Linked DNA regions of Homo sapiens: all the other regions are linked to region 1. The links are contacts of gene promoters, found by promoter capture Hi-C in blood cells and fetal thymus (Javierre and others, 2016). All regions are on one chromosome and are shown on one strand. Each heading gives the region's core, a stretch centred on a gene start or on the middle of the fragment in contact. The rest is flanking DNA. Distances are from core to core; before and after follow the strand shown. Region 1 overlaps CPNE3 (copine 3). Region 2 holds the start of CA2 (carbonic anhydrase 2). Region 3 holds the start of E2F5 (E2F transcription factor 5).

What was found. The method cuts DNA at HindIII sites, captures the fragments that hold promoters and counts their contacts. A CHiCAGO score of 5 or more calls a contact.
Region 2: a contact is called between the fragment with the promoter of CA2 here and a fragment that was not itself captured in region 1, in 2 of 17 cell types (naive B cells and total B cells). The highest score is 6.1, in naive B cells.
Region 3: the fragment with the promoter of E2F5 here is called in contact with a fragment that was not itself captured in region 1 in 1 of 17 cell types (naive B cells); the score reaches 6.7 in naive B cells.

What each region holds. Positions count from the first base shown.
Region 1 is chr8:86,522,995-86,525,948 of GRCh38, forward strand. All of the region lies in intron 2 of CPNE3 (copine 3), which reads left to right. Among named protein-coding and RNA genes, the nearest start is that of CPNE3, 10 kb to the left of the region's middle. RefSeq lists enhancers at 294-393, 414-463. The HindIII fragment of the contact is 2,787 bases long and covers 12-2,798 here.
Region 2 is chr8:85,462,367-85,465,260 of GRCh38, forward strand. It overlaps CA2 (carbonic anhydrase 2), which reads left to right and starts at 1,641. Exons shown (of 7, transcript NM_000067.3): 1 at 1,641-1,749. The coding sequence starts at 1,716. It overlaps CA3-AS1 (CA3 antisense RNA 1), which reads right to left and starts at 2,549. Exons shown (of 3, transcript NR_121630.1): 1 at 2,216-2,549; 2 at 370-435. RefSeq lists silencers at 877-1,136, 1,207-1,526, 1,637-2,106 and an enhancer at 1,750-2,249. The HindIII fragment of the contact is 7,146 bases long and covers 1-2,894 here.
Region 3 is chr8:85,175,655-85,178,439 of GRCh38, forward strand. E2F5 (E2F transcription factor 5) reads left to right here and starts at 1,500. Exons shown (of 8, transcript NM_001951.4): 1 at 1,500-2,000. The coding sequence starts at 1,767. E2F5-DT (E2F5 divergent transcript) reads right to left here and starts at 1,387. Exons shown (of 3, transcript NR_134311.1): 1 at 1,177-1,387. RefSeq lists an enhancer at 1,161-1,330 and silencers at 1,431-1,960, 1,971-2,360. The HindIII fragment of the contact is 15,711 bases long and covers 1-2,785 here.

The DNA of each region.
Region 1 (2,954 bases), core at 155-2,654:
TTGTTTCAAGAAGCTTTTCATAAGTAAGGATGAGAAAGCTGCTTTATGTCTTACTACTTAATAACAAGCCATCTATGCTGAGACAATCAATTAAAATCCCTGACTCAGTAATAAAATAATTGCTACAATTCATAGAGTGTCTATTATATGCTGAGCATGCTACAGACCTACAGTTGTCAGGGTTTTTATTAAGTTTATTTTTCTCTCTTAGCCTTATTTACATTGAAGGACTAGTGTCAGGGTTTTTTAATATCCCCATTTTATAAATTAGGAAATTGAAGTTCAGATAGACAATTTGGCAGAGGTGACACATCCAAATTAGTGATGGGAAAGAAATTTGAATGACACACGCTGACTCCAGCATTATTGCTCTTTCTGCTACAAATAACCTGTGCCAGATGTCATGCTTCAGGAAGAAGAGGAAGTGGTAAAATATGTTCGCTGCCCACAGTTCACAGTATATAGACGGAGTGATGAGCCACAAATACAAGTAACAATAGTGGAAAGAAAATAGAATCAGTGCCATAACAGCATGAGGGGTATCAGCAGGGTATCAGCAACAGCTGTATGAATGAAGTATCATTTGAAGTGTTTGTTTTGTTTTGTTTTGAGATAGAGTCTCACTCTGTCGCCCAGGCTGGAGTGCAGTGGTACCATCTCGGCTCACTGCAACCTTCACCTCCTTGGTTCAAGTGATTCTCCTGCCTCAGCCTCCCGAGTAGCTGGGATTACAGGCACCTGCCACCACACCTGGCTAATTTCTGTATATTTAGTAGAGACAGGGTTTCACCATGTTGGCCAGGCTGAGTTCTTGAACTCCTGACCTCAAGTGATCCCCCTACCTCGCCCACCCAAAGTGCTGGGATTACAGGTGTGAGCCACCGTGCCCGGCCTGAAGTGGATCTTGAAGAACTTGGGTGGGCAGAGGTAGCTGTTCAGGTAGATTAGGGGTAGATGTTGGCAGAGCCATGAATTCCAGGCTTAGTTCATTGGACTATCACTTTTTAATCAGAAGTGATAAAACCATAATGTGAATGGAGAGAAAATGGCAGTGGGAATACCCATTAGGAGACTATTATATAAGGCAGGTGAGAGATACAGAAGACCTGAAGTTAGGGTTGTGACTCTGGGTATGGGAAAGCGGCTGTATCTCCATGTTTGGGAGAGATTTGGGGTTCTAGTAGGCAGAATCTCTATGACATCTTTACTGGATAAATCTAAGAGTAGGTTTAAGGAGGAATGGGAAAAGAGGAAGTAGATAAGACTTCAGGATTTTCAGCCAGGGCATGGGAATGACCAGATGCCTTAAATTTCACATATCAGGTACCACTTTAAATATTAGGTCTTAATTCTCAGCTCCTTATGTTTATCTCTGTTATAATATTGATTCAGAACGTTAGGGTGACTGGGAGAATTATTGATATATTTGGTGTTTCTAGGGATTATTTGCATTTCAGAAGACGTGTTTGGATCAAATTTTGTCCAACAAGTAATAATCTGTACAGTAGGGAAGCTGTTGTCTAATCCTAGGGATTATTTGTGTTTTCTATCCTGCTCTTTAAGGAGTAAAATACTACATAGAATTCTTCTTTAGTTGCTCATGCATTCTTTGCCAGGTGACTTATCCCAGCCAAATCTTTCATACTAAAAGAGTATAAAACGTTTGTTTTATTTTTCCTCATCATAATTTTTTTTTTTTTTTTTTTTGCGACAGGGTCTTGCTCTGTCACCCAGGCTGCAGTGCATAGCTTACTGTGGCCTCGAACTCCTGAACTTGAGTGAGCCTCCTGCCTTAGCCTACTGAGTAGCTGGGACTACAGGTGCATGCCACCTTGGCTGGCTAATTTTTTCATTTTTCTTTCTTTCTTTCTTTCTTTTTTAGACGGAGTCTTGCTCTGTCGCCCAGGTTGGAATGCAATGGCGTGATCTCACTGACCGAAACCTCCGCCTCTGAGGTTCAAGTGATTCTCCTGCCTCAGCCTCCTGAGTAGCTGGGATTACAGGCATGTACCACCATGCCTGGCTAATTTTTGTGTTTTTAGTAGAGACGGGGTTTCACCAGGTTGGCCAGGCTGGTCTCAAACTCCTGACCTGGGATAATCCACCTGCCTCGGCCTCCCGAAATGCTGGGATTACAGGTGTGAGCCACTGCGCCCAGCCTAAAATTTTTTGTTTTTGTAGAGATGAGGTCTCTGTTGCTCAGGCTGGTCTTGAACTCCTGGGCTCAAGCAATCCTACTGCCTCAGCCTCCCAAAGTGCTGGGATTACAAGTATGAGCCAATATGCCCAGCTCCCATTATGATTTGTGGATAAAGTATACTATTGCTCTCTTAAAAAATTGTATATCATGTACTGGATAATTACATTAAAAGGAAATGAAAACAGTATCTTCATGAATATTACCATTAACAAGATTCCAGACCCTAGTGTTTATGTAATTTCTTCCATTTGCCATTCAGCCATAATGGGTTTCAGGATAACATTGAGACCAGCACAGAGTCATTTTTCAGAGAGGAATGCTGCTAATAGAAGAAATTTGTTTCCTGGCAGCAATGCAGTAGTATAACTGTCAGCAATTGGTTAAATAATCAGCTGTGCCTGGCATGTTGTTTTTGTAGCTTTTGTATAAGCATTTTTAGGGAAAAAAATAATGCTCTTCTGATATGTGGTGTCTCTTTGCTGTGAGACTGACTTCACATGTAGATGTCTTCATTCTCTGTTGAATTCTTCCCATCCTTGGAAATTTGAAGACTTTTCTGCTGGCTGGTAGAGAATCCTCTACATGTTTTTTTGGGGGAAGCTTTAGCTATTGTTGCTCATTCTATGTTCATCCACAGGGCACTGCATTATGCTTGATATTGCTGACATACAACTTACAAGACTCTAAACTACCTTATGCAAAAAAAAATCATACAACTCACATTTATTTTACAGATTCTGTATTAGATGCAAAA
Region 2 (2,894 bases), core at 391-2,890, 1.1 Mb before region 1:
AAGCAGAAGTACACAATTTTCTAGAATCTTAGAACAAGTAAGTCTAAACATGAATCATATTTGTTTGGATGAAATTGACTGAAATAAATAGTAAAGAGTGATTTTGAGATACATATTGCAAAAATGTCCACTAATAACTTATCCTTGTATTTATCTGTATATTTTCAAAGGTAAGTAATGTGATGTCAAGGCCGACACAATCACATTAAACTGTGTCCTGCTTCCCCAACTGTAACTCTAATACTATTGCCCTCAGAGATTGCAGAGACCACAGAACCGAACTCCTTCCCACAAACCCCCGGATTTTTCTGTGGCAAAATCCCTTGTAGGAAATGAATTCTCTCTATATCTCAAAACAGCCTCACTTACCCAGTAGGCCCTGTAAGCACAGTGTCTCAGGTCCACAATACTTTTAGATGCCCAGGAAAATGTTTCCTTTTAAAATAAGAACAAAAAAGAAAAAAATTAGGTGTTGGTTAAAGAAAATGTTTAAATATATAATATTAAGATATTTATCTTTATGTCAGTGTTGGTATAAATGCGTGTTTATGAAAAAGGGACCCACCAAGGTGAAATGCCGTAGGACCCACAAATGTCATAATGCTGGCTGGCCTCAAAATGTCCTTCCTATTAAACTATTTTGAATGATTCCTAGGTATGCCAGATGCCAATTTTTCTTGGCCAGCCAGGGAACGTCTCATGTCTTTGGAAGAAATTATCTTTCTCTTACTGGATTCTTCTGAGAAAAGTGATTTGTTAAAAGTTTTGGTTATTTCAAATCAATATGTACTCAACTAGGACGTCTCCTCACCCACGTTAATTTTTTAAAGAGGAGGAAAGTAGGAGAAGATGAGCGCTTCATGTAAGGCTCTGCCAGCCTACGAGGAAATGCAATCCTCCAGGCTCGCCCGAGCGTGGGCTGCGGGCAGGGGACTGTGGGGCCGTTGTCTCGTTTTATTCCACGGCCGTGCAGCAGAGGGCGCGTGCCTCTCAGCACTCATGCTGCGCGCTCCCCTGCGCCTCTAGGATCGTATCCCTATTTGCCCCAAGGTCATAGCTCCTAACCCAGCTTGCCAGCCCCAGGCCGGGGACACCAGAGACTGAGCCCTTCGCGCTGGAGACCCCGGCGCGGGTGGGGCGGGAGGGCTCCGGGGCCAAGAGACAGGTCACAATGGGGACAGGGGACGAAAGGCGCCGGGGGTCCGGGTCCCGAGCAGTCCCCGCCGCCGCCAGACTCCGCAGCCGGGAGGGGGATGGGGTGCGCGTAGAGGCTCCGCGGCCCGGGTTGGACGGAGGAGCCCAGGAGCCACCGCAGCCGCCGCACGCCCAGAGCTCCGAGCTTCGCTGCCAGCCCAGGACACCGGGGCCCTGCCGTGGGCCGAGGGGAGCCGGGCGGCGGGAGAGGAGCCCCGGAGCCCCGGAGCCCCGGAGCCCCGCCGGGCGCCAGCCGAGAGGGCGTTTTCCCCGCCCCCGGAGACTCGCCCGCCCGGCCCGCCCCGCCCCGAGCGCGGGGAGTTCACCTCCGCCCGTCACCACCTCCCCTTGTCGCCTAGGTCCACCCGAGCCCCCTCCCCCGGGCCGCCCCCGAGCACGAAGTTGGCGGGAGCCTATAAAAGCTGGTGCCGGCGCGACCCGCGGACACACAGTGCAGGCGCCCAAGCCGCCGCCGCCAGATCGGTGCCGATTCCTGCCCTGCCCCGACCGCCAGCGCGACCATGTCCCATCACTGGGGGTACGGCAAACACAACGGTGAGTGCCGGCGACGGCCAGCGCGGGGGCGCCCCGATCCCCGATCCCCGATCCCCGATCCCCGAGCCCGGATGCCGGCCCGGGGCCCGCAGCGCCCGCACATGCTGTTTACCGCGGCCGCGGGGAGTGCTGGAGGCTCAGGTGCGCCCCGGGCGCTCGCTCCGCTCGCGGCTCCGCGGCGCCGGGGATGTCCCCCTTGCCCCAGCTGCGAGGCCACTGTGGAGGAATCCCCGCGTCCGCCGGAGGCGCGTAGGGCCCGAGGGAGGGGAGGCGCAGCCCTGGCCGCGGGACCCGAGGACAGTCCCTCCCGGGTCCCGACCTGGGGATCATTTTAACCGGACCTAGGAGGAGGCGGGAAAGGGTTGTAACGGAAAATTCTAGTTGTTGATCGCAGAGAAATTAAGAGACTCCCCTCCCCCCTCCCCCACCTTCCACCCCCACCCCACCCCTCCAGCTTCAGCACCACCTGTGGCTAAGGCGCTCAGCACGAACTGTCCCGGGGCATTTTCCAGTGCTGGTTTGAATCCATGGCTCTGATTTCCGAGTTTTCCCTTCATCTCTCGACTTCTAATGTTAGGGGGTCGGACATCAGGAATCGGGTTTTATCTTGGCCTCAGATCTGGTTCTTCGGAGCCAGCGGAGCAGAGGAGCATGCGTCTGGCGCACCTAGCGCATCTTTGGAGGGTGTGGGGCTTCCCAGGTAGTGGGGAACCCTGACGGTTAAAGGTGGGGTGGGCCCGGGCCTGGGCAGTGAGGAAAGGATCCAGACCTCCTTGAATGTCTTAAGTGAGCTTGCATATCCCAAAATCGCAACCACAAGCCCTGACATTAGTGTCTGCCCGATTTCAGTTGCTGAATTTCAGTAAAACGACCTTAAAATAGCTAATATTTATATAGCACTCAGTGATCTAAGAGCTTTACATATATCGATTCTAATTCTTACAGCGACATCTATGAGGTAGATTTCTAATTATCCCATATTACAAATGTGGAAACTGAGGCACAGATTACGTGTTTTCCCAAAATTTAGCCCATTGTTAAGTGATGCTTCTAAAATTGGAACTGAGCAGATTGGCTCCGGAATGATTGCTCTTCTCTAGGGGTCTGGGTGTACCTTTCCCCACAATGGGGGATTCACATGTCTT
Region 3 (2,785 bases), core at 250-2,749, 1.3 Mb before region 1:
ATAGCCTTTCTTGGATAGGTTGTTGGAAAATGGTTGTATCAACTGAATTTTTCATGTTTTACTTCAGATTTTCAATTTTAAGTTTTGTTTATAGATTTGATTAAAATAAAGGTTATTATGAATAGGTTATTAATAAAGGTTATAAAGTTCTGTGCCTATGATGTGTTATAAATGGTGTGTTCAGCTTTACTAGTTAATGCTGTTGTATTTGATGTCGCTTCAGTGACCTTTTTTGTTAGTTTATTGTTACTTAAAATTAAGCAAAATCTTTCTTGCATGAAATCTTCTTGATTAATTATTGCCATATAGAATTTTCATTCACCTAATCTTTTTTTTTTTTATTTGAGACAGAGTCTTGCTTTGTTGCCCAGGCTGAAGTGCAGTGGTGGCATCTCGGCTCACTGCAACACTGCAACGTCTGCCTCCTGGGTTTAAGAGATTCTCCTGCCTCAGGCTCTGGAGTAGCTGGGACTATAGGCGGGCACCACCACCCCCCGCTAATTTTTGTATTTTTAGTAGAGACGGGGTTTTACCATGTTGGCCAGGTTGGTCTCGAACTCCTGATCTCAAATGATCTGCCTGCCTCGGCCTCCCAAAGTGCTGGGATTACAGGCGTAAGCCACCGCGCCTGGTCTCATTCGCCTAATCTTTATTGTCTACTATATTCAAAGTGTTGAGTGTGACAACAAGTCATTTAAAATTTAGTCTGGATTCTCAAGAGTTTGTAATATAATGAGGAAAAAATCCCAACGACTTTCTTTTACTCAGATCTCCATAATGTCATTTGCCATCAATAGTTTGGAATATCACTGAAGTCCAAGGGCCTGTGGCTACCCAATATTCCAAATACAATATAATTTGGTTCAAATAAGATATTAAGAACTTTGGTCAAGAACTTTGGTCAAACACAGGAGATCTGGAATCTAACGGCATGTCTTTGGCAATTCACAACCTCTCCCTCTACACGTTTCTCCATGTAGAAAGTAAAGGCCTTGGAAAGGATTGATGAAAACCAACCCTAAAACTCCACGATGCCTTTTTCTGTACTCCGAATCTAAAAGGGTGAGCTATGAAGTAAAACTCTGCACTTGGTCCAAGTCATTGAAATATTTGCAAACGATGCTAGAGCTCGAAAAGAGCAAAGATAGCAGAAACCGTCCAGAGAAAGTAACCTACTGCTGAAGCTCTGCAAACTTGAGCAGTCAACCAACTTCACCGCTCACAAACGTTTGGCCGCTAGGCATTGTGACTTTCTGCCCAGATAAAAGTCTTTTTTTCTTTTGTCTCCTTTTTTTCTTCCTCCCTGCTTTGCCGCGTGAGATTACCACTCCTCGGGTCAGCTCGCGAACGCCAGGGAGGCGAGTGTGAAACACACGCGCCAACACCCCTCCTCCTCCTCGTGCGCTCCTCCTTCCTACAGAAAAATGTGTTTCTAGGCAACGGCGGGCGGCGGCGTCACTTCCTGCCATTTAAACTCAGGTCCCCACCCCTCGCAGCCCCTTCTCCTCGTTTCCACCCCTCCCCCCTCGGTCGTGGGCCTCATTCACGCTTCCCCGGGCTTGGGGAGGGGGCGGAGGCCCGGCGTGACAAGCGGCCCAGACTCCCGTGGGCGCCGCACACCTGTTGTTTGCAGCAGCCAGCGACCCGCACTACCGCTCTCGGCGGGCGGGGAAGCGGCCGCAGCGGAGCCGACCCGGCAGGTGGCCGCGGGCGGGGCCGGCGAGCGAAAGTGCGCGGGGGCCCGACCACCGCGGGGCCGGGACGCGATGGCGGCGGCAGAGCCCGCGAGCTCGGGCCAGCAGGCGCCGGCAGGGCAGGGGCAGGGCCAGCGGCCGCCGCCGCAGCCTCCGCAGGCGCAAGCCCCGCAGCCGCCCCCGCCGCCGCAGCTCGGGGGCGCCGGGGGCGGCAGCAGCAGGCACGAGAAGAGCCTGGGGCTGCTCACTACCAAGTTCGTGTCGCTGCTGCAGGAGGCCAAGGACGGCGTTCTGGATCTCAAAGCGGTGAGCTCCGGAGGCGGGGACGGGGGCGGACTTCGGAACCCGTGGCCCCCGGGGAAGCCCAGCCCCTCGCCGCGTGGGTCTAGCGGCGTGGTGTAGACGCGCCTTGCGGGGACCCGGGACCGGGCAATCCGAGGACCATGTGGCCTGCGCCCGGGTCGTGGACGCCGGGATGGGGGAGGGACGAGGGACCAGGATGGCACCGAGCGGACGCGTAACCAATGGGGCCCGGCGCCACGCTGGGCTCTCGACAAAGAGCCCAGGACCTCGAGCGCGCCCGCGTGGCTTCTGTCTCCGGGCGCAGGGACCTGAGGGTAACCGAGTGTCTGTTGCTCTGCGTCCACCTGTGGCAGAGGCTCACGGGGTAACGGGCGCTTTGCCCGGAGACACCGTGGATATCGATTTTGCTGTTAAGAATGGATGGTTTTAATAGGCGATTCCAGTTGGAACCATGTTCCTGTAGTTTAAATAAAAAGGAGGAAAAACAAAACCCAGTCTGCCATCTCTACCAGATGAAAGAAAAAAAAAAAAGAGTACTTCTTTCCACGCCCCTCCCCGATAAAATAGTATTAAATCTTCCTTGTGCACTTCTTTCATCACCCTGATAGTTAGGAGGGGTATTTGATTTGTGACTTCATTTGGCATGTGTCATGGGTTTCCAAAAGTGAGATCTGCTGTCACACGAAAAGGGGATATTTTACAACTTTCACCCAAAGAGGTGGAAGTGCTCAGTAAACTCTCTCCCTGCGTCGTCCTTTACAGCGTTCAGATTTTTCAAACAGGAGCAG